Linked DNA regions of Homo sapiens: region 2 is linked to region 1. The links are contacts of gene promoters, found by promoter capture Hi-C in blood cells and fetal thymus (Javierre and others, 2016). All regions are on one chromosome and are shown on one strand. Each heading gives the region's core, a stretch centred on a gene start or on the middle of the fragment in contact. The rest is flanking DNA. Distances are from core to core; before and after follow the strand shown. Region 1 holds the start of FSD1L (fibronectin type III and SPRY domain containing 1 like). Region 2 overlaps ABCA1 (ATP binding cassette subfamily A member 1).

Region 1 (3,984 bases), core at 925-3,424:
GTACTACTGTCTTATTTAAAGAGAACAATATCCAGCTTAGATCATTACTATTTGAGGCTTGTGATTCTGCAGGAATTCATACGAGAAAAGGAAGCTCAGGTTCAGAGCACTGAACTGGTTATACACATTAATCCCGGACATTCTTTTTACAGCTATAAACCAAAGGGTGTTTGTTTTTTCATTAGAAAGATTTGGTACCACCAATGAAATTCAACATATTTTCTAATATTGAGAAGTTGATTCTCAAAGATATCACAAATAAGATACATTACTACTACTACTAAGAAAGAGAAGCTAATTCTTTGCTACCTCTCAGGAAACTGCACGTGGTAACCTGTAGGTACCCTAACACATCATTCGAAATGAGAACAAATAGGTTCAAATCTTAGCCTTAGGGCTAGTAGCATGACCTTCCAGGAGTCACAACTCATTAAAGTAAGGAATAATGCATCCCTGATAAAGTATGATGATCAATATTAAAACACATTTTTTTGTATTTTATGGGACACAGTATTTTAGTGGTCATACTTTGTAAACTTTAAAATGCTGTGTTTTCAGAACAAACTATTTTATCAGATTTTTACTATGACACTATAAAATACTCTTACTTCTACTGCATAGATGAGGAAACAGATTAATCACAGTTAAGTGACTTGCTCCTTATCACAGAGCTAGTAAATAGCATCCTGGAACCCATGTCTCCGGACTTTGCTCCTTCACTTGACCTCTGCTAATGTCCATTCAAATATCATTTCTTTTATCTAATAAGCTGAGAGATGTTTTACAAATTTAGGCAGAGACAATATTTTAAACCTATACATACTCAAAATACACAAAATCTAATTTTTAAAAAATGCCTTAAGAATAGTCATGCATTCCAAGGTGAGTTTCAAGACCAACACATACAATGAAATCATATGCATATTTGTTAAATACTGTAATAGTCAATGCTCAACACATCATTATTCTCTCATGCCCTCAGTGAAGTGATCCTCAAGAAGGTGAATGTAGACAAAATTGTAGAAAACGTTGTTCTAAGTCTTTCCCGTGCTTTCTAATAATAGAAAAGAATAGTCTCTTAGATATGTCTTTGTTTTCCCTGCTACATTATTAATACTCCTTGTTTTTTCTTTCCTACCCTGTACTATATTTCAATTACGTTATAGTCTAACAAAGAGAACAGGGTGGTTATTTTCATATGGAGATTATGACTGAATAATTCACTTCTAACTGTATTCAAGACATTGGCTTTGTTCTCCAAATACTTCTGAATTGAACCTTTACGATTATATAACCTTTCCTCAACTGTTCGGAAAGTATAAAACATTCCACAACGACCCCTAAGTAACTGTGCCCAGCAACACCAACTGGTCAGAGAGTGGGAAGGCTGCCCTAACAATTGAAGTCTTTTCCCTCCATTCAACGAACACTAAACACTAAGATCTACTTAGGAAAAGTCATGGGAAGGGGAGCGGTGGGCGGTACAAAGGAGATTCGGTCCCTGACCTAAAGAGCGTGGTGCTGAGACGAGACTTGGTCGAGGAGAAAGCCCCAGCTTTCGGCGTCAGCAGGGAGACACCAAAAAGGCTGTGCCTCGGTTTCCTCACCTGCTGAGGAGGGATACACCCCCACCAGCACGCTCGCAGTCTGCAGGCATGAAAACCGGCCTAAAGCGCTGCAGAGTGGCTGATTTTAAAAGGGGGATGGCTCCGTTTCTCCTCCAGAGTCAGGGCCCCGGACAGCGCGCAGAGCAGAGGCCAGCCCGAGTCACCGGGCGCGGTCCCCGCATCCGTGTGGGCGCCTCTTAGCTCCCGCCCAGAGAGCGGCCGGGCGGCCTTGCCCTCCGCAGCAGCAGCCCGGACGCCCGGCCAGGCCCACCCCGCGCACCCACAGCCCACGGGCCCAGGCGCCCCGCCCACCCTGTGCCGGCCCGGCTTGTCTCGGTAGCCCCGGGCTCCCCTCCCCCGCTTACTTTCTGGGAGTCCATGGCGAGTGGCTAAGCCCACTGGGCTCGAACCCGAGACGACGAACCGTGTGAGGAGGCTCAGCGAGATCGCACACCCCAAGACCGCTACTCACTGCACTGCCCCAGCCCGCACCGGCACCGCCCGGCCCCACCCGTCCGCGCCCAGACCGCGCGCGCCGTAGTCACGCCGCGGTTGCCAGGGTGAAAGGGCGGCCCGCAGAAGGGAGGGGCTGAGGAGCGCACCGCGCCTGCGCGCAGCGGCTGACTGCTCCCGGGAAGTAGCCGTGGAGGGTGGGGAGCGCCGCCCGTCTGTCTACCGCTAGTGCCTCTGCAGGCTGCACTCCCTTCCCCCATCCTTTTTCCTCCAGCGATAGCGGTCTCTCCGGCCCTGAAATAGGCCACTGGGCATCCAGCAGCCGGCCGGTGCGGAGGGCCCGGGAAGGAAAGAGTATCTGGTGCTGGAGACGGATTAGCCCACCCTCCACCCAGCACGCATCTGAAGCCCCTCCCCACACTATCCTTCGAGGGGCAGCCAGGCTTGAGCGGACCCAGCGGTCCAAAGGGAGGAAAAGGGCTGGGGTGGGGATGTAGCGAAAACGTGGGAAAAGACCTTTAGGGGATGTGGTGGAAACGTGGGAGGAGGGATATAGGGATGAGAGTGGCGGAAACGTGGGTGTGGGATTAATATGAGCTTTGGGGCCTGGCACAGTTTTTCCCGGGGACCCACCCATCCTCCCCGGCACCTCGCTACCTGTATGATTTTGAGCAAGTCAGTCTGCCTGAGCTTGTTTCATCTGTAAAATGAGAGAAATAATGCGGACTTTGCAGAGGATTGTGAGGATTAAATAACGTATGGTACATAATTAGTAGTGAATAAATTATAGTCATTCTCTTTTTTTTTTTTTTTTTTTTTTTTTGGAGATGGAGTCTCGGTCTGTCACCGAGGCTGGAGTGCAGTGGTGCCATCTTGGCTCACTGCAACCTCTGCCTCCCGGGTTCCAGGAATTCTCGTGCCTCAGCCTCATGAGTAGCTGGGATTACAGGCGCCCCCACCACACCTGGCTAATTTTTTGTACTTTTAGCGGAGACTGGTTCTAGCCATGTTGCTTAGGATGGTCTCGAACTCCTAAGCTCAGGCAGTCCGCCCACCTCAGCCTCCCAAATTGCTAGGATTACAGGTGTGGGTTACAGGGCATGTGCCAGGCCCATTATAGTCATTCTTAGTGGGGAGTTAGAACCTGCTCGGTGTGGCCTGAGGCATCAATGAAGATTTTAGAAAGCTTGGAATTTAGTAGGCTTGAGAAAGTTCTTCCTCAAGCAGACAGGCCTCATCTTCCATTTGGATGACTCTGGAGAGGCTCACAAAAGTTCAATTAGACAGTCATTTATGATGAATGAATAAAAGGGAAATACATATTGAGTACCTATTCTGTACCAGTTCTACAAACAAAATTCAGTAGTGGGCAAGGCCCTGTTTCTCTCACAGAGCTTACAATCTAGTATAGAAGACCAACCAAAAAAAAAAAAAAAGTTAACGTGCTAGACGGTTATAGGTGCTAAAATTAAAACTTAGGCCAGGCATGGTGGCTCACACCTGTAATCCCAACACTTTGGGAGGCCCAATGAGTGGATCACTTGAGTCCAGGAGTTCGAGACCAGCCTGGGCAACATGGCAAAACCCCATCTCTACAGAAATTAAAAAAAAAAAAATTAGCCAGACGTGGTGCTGCAAGCCTGTAGCCAGAGCCAATCAGGAGGCTGAAGCGGGAGGATCACTTGAGTCCTGGAGGCAGAGGTTGCAGTGAGCCTAGATCACACCACTGCACTCCAGCCTGGGCAACAGGGTGAGACCCCAGCTCCTAAATAAATAAATAAGGCAAATGGATTCAGAGAATTGGGAGGGTTTAATTTTTCATAGAAATGTCAGGGAAGATCTCTCTTGGAAATGACCTGAGTATAAAGTGAGAAGAGGAATTGTACAAGGATCTAGGGAAGAACATTCTAGAAAGTAGGAACAA
Region 2 (3,984 bases), core at 990-3,489, 560 kb after region 1:
TGCTAAGCTTAGAGAAGGAGGAGAAATCTGATTTTATTAATGAGTGTAGCCATAATGGCATATCCTGGCAGAAGTCAACTTTGGTTTCTAGAGGGAGGCTATTATGAAAAGAAATACCTGGAACATTCCCCTGGGTTTGGAAGGTGAGTTCTAGGTTCAATGATGGGAAGAATTTTAGAGGTCCAAGATAAAAGGGCAAAGATTAAATTTTGTCTCTCATGAGTTCTCTGGCTCAGGTGGTGTGAACTTTGCAGACAGTCTCTTTAATTCACTCATACATGCTAGTCTCCCAGCTCAGCAAGGGCTTTGAGAGAGCAGGTGTCTGTATGCTCTGGTAAGTGAAGGCAAAGTGCATAAGGAGGTTGGGGTCCATAATGGCGAAGAGAAGGAGCCCTTCAGTCAGAGTGGCTTTGAATCTTGGCTCTGCCATTTGCCAATCTTGGACCATTGGGCAGTGTATTAACTCTTTGAATCTCAGCTTCCTCTTCTGTAAAATGTGTATAACAAGAGTACTAATTGGATTGTTTGATGATTAAATGAGTTAATGTGTATAAAGCACTCACAACCCTGGTACATAGTAAGACCTTTCATTATTATTATCATCATCAATTTTTTTTAACCTCTTTTCCTGATCTGCTTACACTCACCAGCTTCAGCTGCTCCAAATGGCTTGTAAGATTTTTTGTTTGCCCTTTGCTGTCAGTTGCCATGGGGAAGATCCATTCATTTTTTTCAGTCAACCAACATATTTTGAGCATCTGCTGCCCTACAGGATCCTAGATATGGGGGCTGCAGAGATATCCAGGAACATAAGCCTTGATTAATTGGGTCAGATCAGTGCTCAGCAGGGCTGGCAAGTGCTAGGTTTCTTTTAAGTGGCATATCTTAAAAGGTATATGTCCTAAACATAGCTTTGTGATGGCAGCATGATGGGTACAAAAGCACACACTTAAGTGTCAGTAGATCTGGGTTCAAACATTGGTGCAGTTTCTTATGGCTCGTAACTTGTTCAAACCTCAGTTTCTTCACTTCTAAAACGGTAATGATACAACCTACCTCACAGGGTTATTATGAATTAAATACTGGAGATGAGATACACAAAACGTCTTGAGTACACAGTAGCTGCCCAATATTGGCTGTAAGTATTATAAATCTACAAGCTGTGAATTAATTTTACCTCTCTGGATCCTGTTGATATTTCTAGACCATTCCACCTAGTGGGGCCATTTCCTACCTGAGTCACCCGTGGTGTCAAATAGAATGTCATGTGGCCTCCTGAGTTGGGTAGAATTGGCTGCTCATCTCAACCCCGCTACTGACTATCTCTGTGATTTACCCTTCCTCCAGCCTTAGCCTTGCTACATATAAAATCAAGACAATAATGTTTCCTATCTCACAGGGTTGTCCTGAGGATTAAATTAAGTAATTAATATAAAATGTGCCTTGTACATATTGGGCCCTAAATAAACAGTAGCTACTATTTATCCTTAAAGTACAAATGGTAGTTTCAGAGCTTCAAGGCTGATGGCTATTTATCTTACTCATACTCTTTGTTTAGCTTCATTTTTTTCCCCTAATTTCATTAGTATTTTCTTTTCTTTTTTTTTTTTTTTTTTTTTTTTTTTTTTTGAGGTGAAGTCTCACTCTGTTGCCCAGGCTGGAGTGCAATGGAGCGATCTTGGCTCACCCCAACCTCTGTCTCCTGGGTTCAAACAGTTCTCCTGCCTCAGCCTCCCGAGTAGCTGGGATTACAGGCTCCCGCCACCATGCCCAGCTATTTTTTTGTATTTTCAGTAGAGATGGGGTTTCACCCTTTTGACCAGGCTGGTCTTGAACTCCTGACCTCATGATCAACCCACCTCAGCCTCCCAAAGTGCTGGGATTACAGGTGTGAGCCACCACGCCCGGCCTCATAAGTATTTTCTAAATTTATTTACAGTCATGCCATTTAAAAGGAAAGTTGTATTCCTGTCTTTGTTAATATTTATAAGTGATTTTATTCAGCTACAAGCTTGGAATGGCATATAATTTTGTATTCTGCTTTTTTCACTTAATATTACATGGCTAATGATTTCTGTGTTTCATAAACATTATTCTGATGATGGCATGATATATTGTTGAGTACATGTACCATAATTGAATCATTTCCCTATTGCTATGCAATTAAGTTGTTTCCAATATTTTGCAATTATAATGTTTCAATGAATGAATAACTTTATGCATATAGCTTTTTGATATCTTAAGTTCAGTTTCCTAGGATGAATTTCCAGGAATAGTAATTGGGCAAATGGGATAAACATGACTCTTGAATACGTATTGTTAACATTGCTTTCCCAAAGGGCTCAACTGATTTATATTTCCGTGTTCATTATCTTTTAAACCAGCTCATTTACTCACCAAACATTTTTAAAGCCATTATCATGTGGTAGGCTTAGTAAGAAGAAAGTGACCCTAAGGGAGAAGCTTATATATAAATAGGGTCCCTGGTGTACCAAGTGCTGATACAGACACAAAGTACCTGGGGAAATTGAGATGAGGGAGTCCTGGCTCAGCTGGGAGAAAAGTTCATTTTCATAGAGTCATGGTTTTGTTCTTTGGCAGAAAGAAAATTGCTTTCTTCCCCACCCCCACCCCCAGCTTTATTGAGGTATAATTGACAAATAAAAATTGTATATCTTTAAGATATGCAATGTGATATATATGTATATCTCAACTTAAAAAATAAGCTACAGAATAAAAAGGTGTTTGCTATTAAAAAAAAAGAAAAGGCTGAATGTCATTCCCAAGCTTGGAAATTTGAGTATGTTGCCTCTTTGGGATTATTTACAGAAATATTAGCAAGACCAGCCCCATCTTTGGTCTTGAGTACTCCACTGTCAGCATGCTTTCTTCCAGAGAGGGATCCATTTGCCTTTATTTTTCATTCTGTTGTGCCGTCTATGCAAACTATTCTTGATAGTTTTATGGTAACAGTGTTTTTTTGTTCCATGAGATAATTTATACATGCTCATTGTGGAAAATTTAGAAAAGACAGGAAAGTATTAAAAACATCACTTTTTTTTTTTTTTTTTTTTTTTTTTTTTTAAGAGACAGAGTCTTGCTCTGTCGCCCAGGCCGGAGTGCAGTGGCGTGATCTCAGCTCACAGCAACCTCCGCTTCCCAGGTTTAAGTGATTCTCCTGCCTCAGCCTCCCAAGTAGCTGGGAGTACAGGCATGCACCACCACGCCCGGCTAATTTTGTATTTTTAGTAGAGATGGGGTTTCACCATGTTGGCCAGGCTGGTCTCAAACTCCTGACCTCAGGTGATCCGCCTGCCTTGGCCTCGCAAAGTTCTGGGATTATAGGCAGGAGCCACTGCGCCAGCCACACCTACGTTCTTATCATCCTAGTACATCCACTGTCATTATCTTGCTGTATTTCCTTCTGCCCAGTCTCACTCTGATCATGCAGTGGCGTGATCATGCAGTGATCTCGGCTCACTGCAACCTAGGCCTTCTGGGTTCGAGTGATTCTCCTGCCTTAGCCTCCTGGGTTCAAGTGATTCTCTTGCCTTGGCCTCCCAAGTAGCTGGGATTACAGGCATACACCCCCATGCCCATCTAATTTTTGTATTTTTAGTAGACACAGCGTTTCACTAAAATTTTGTATTTTTAGTAGAGATGGGGTTTCACCATGTTGGCCAGGCTGGTCTCCAACTCCTGACCTCAGGTGATCCGCCTGCCTTGGCCTCACAAAGTGATTACAGGCATGAGCCACTGCATCCATCGCCAAAAAGATTTTTTAAAAGAGTTTAATGTAGAACCATATCAAAGGTCTTTGGAAATAAAAAACAGTTTTTTAAAAATATCAGAAATAAAACAACAAATAAATAAATAAATAAAAACACCCAAAACAATCTGAAGCACGAGCACCTAGCAGAAAGGTTCAATTATGATCTATTCATAGAGTGGAATATCAAGTAGACATTACAGGACATGTTTTAA

What was found. Contacts are between HindIII fragments. The CHiCAGO score rates a contact against its expected background, and 5 or more counts as called.
Region 2: a fragment that was not itself captured here is called in contact with the fragment with the promoter of FSD1L in region 1 in 1 of 17 cell types (total CD8 T cells); the score reaches 5.8 in total CD8 T cells.

Annotation. Positions count from the first base shown.
Region 1 is chr9:105,446,224-105,450,207 of GRCh38, reverse strand. It overlaps FSD1L (fibronectin type III and SPRY domain containing 1 like), which reads right to left and starts at 2,174. Exons shown (of 14, transcript NM_001145313.3): 1 at 1,973-2,174. The coding sequence starts at 1,987. RefSeq lists a silencer at 1,684-2,293. The HindIII fragment of the contact is 4,464 bases long and covers 1-3,248 here.
Region 2 is chr9:104,891,067-104,895,050 of GRCh38, reverse strand. The region is part of intron 2 of ABCA1 (ATP binding cassette subfamily A member 1); the gene reads left to right. Among named protein-coding and RNA genes, the nearest start is that of ABCA1, 35 kb to the left of the region's middle. The HindIII fragment of the contact is 452 bases long and covers 2,014-2,465 here.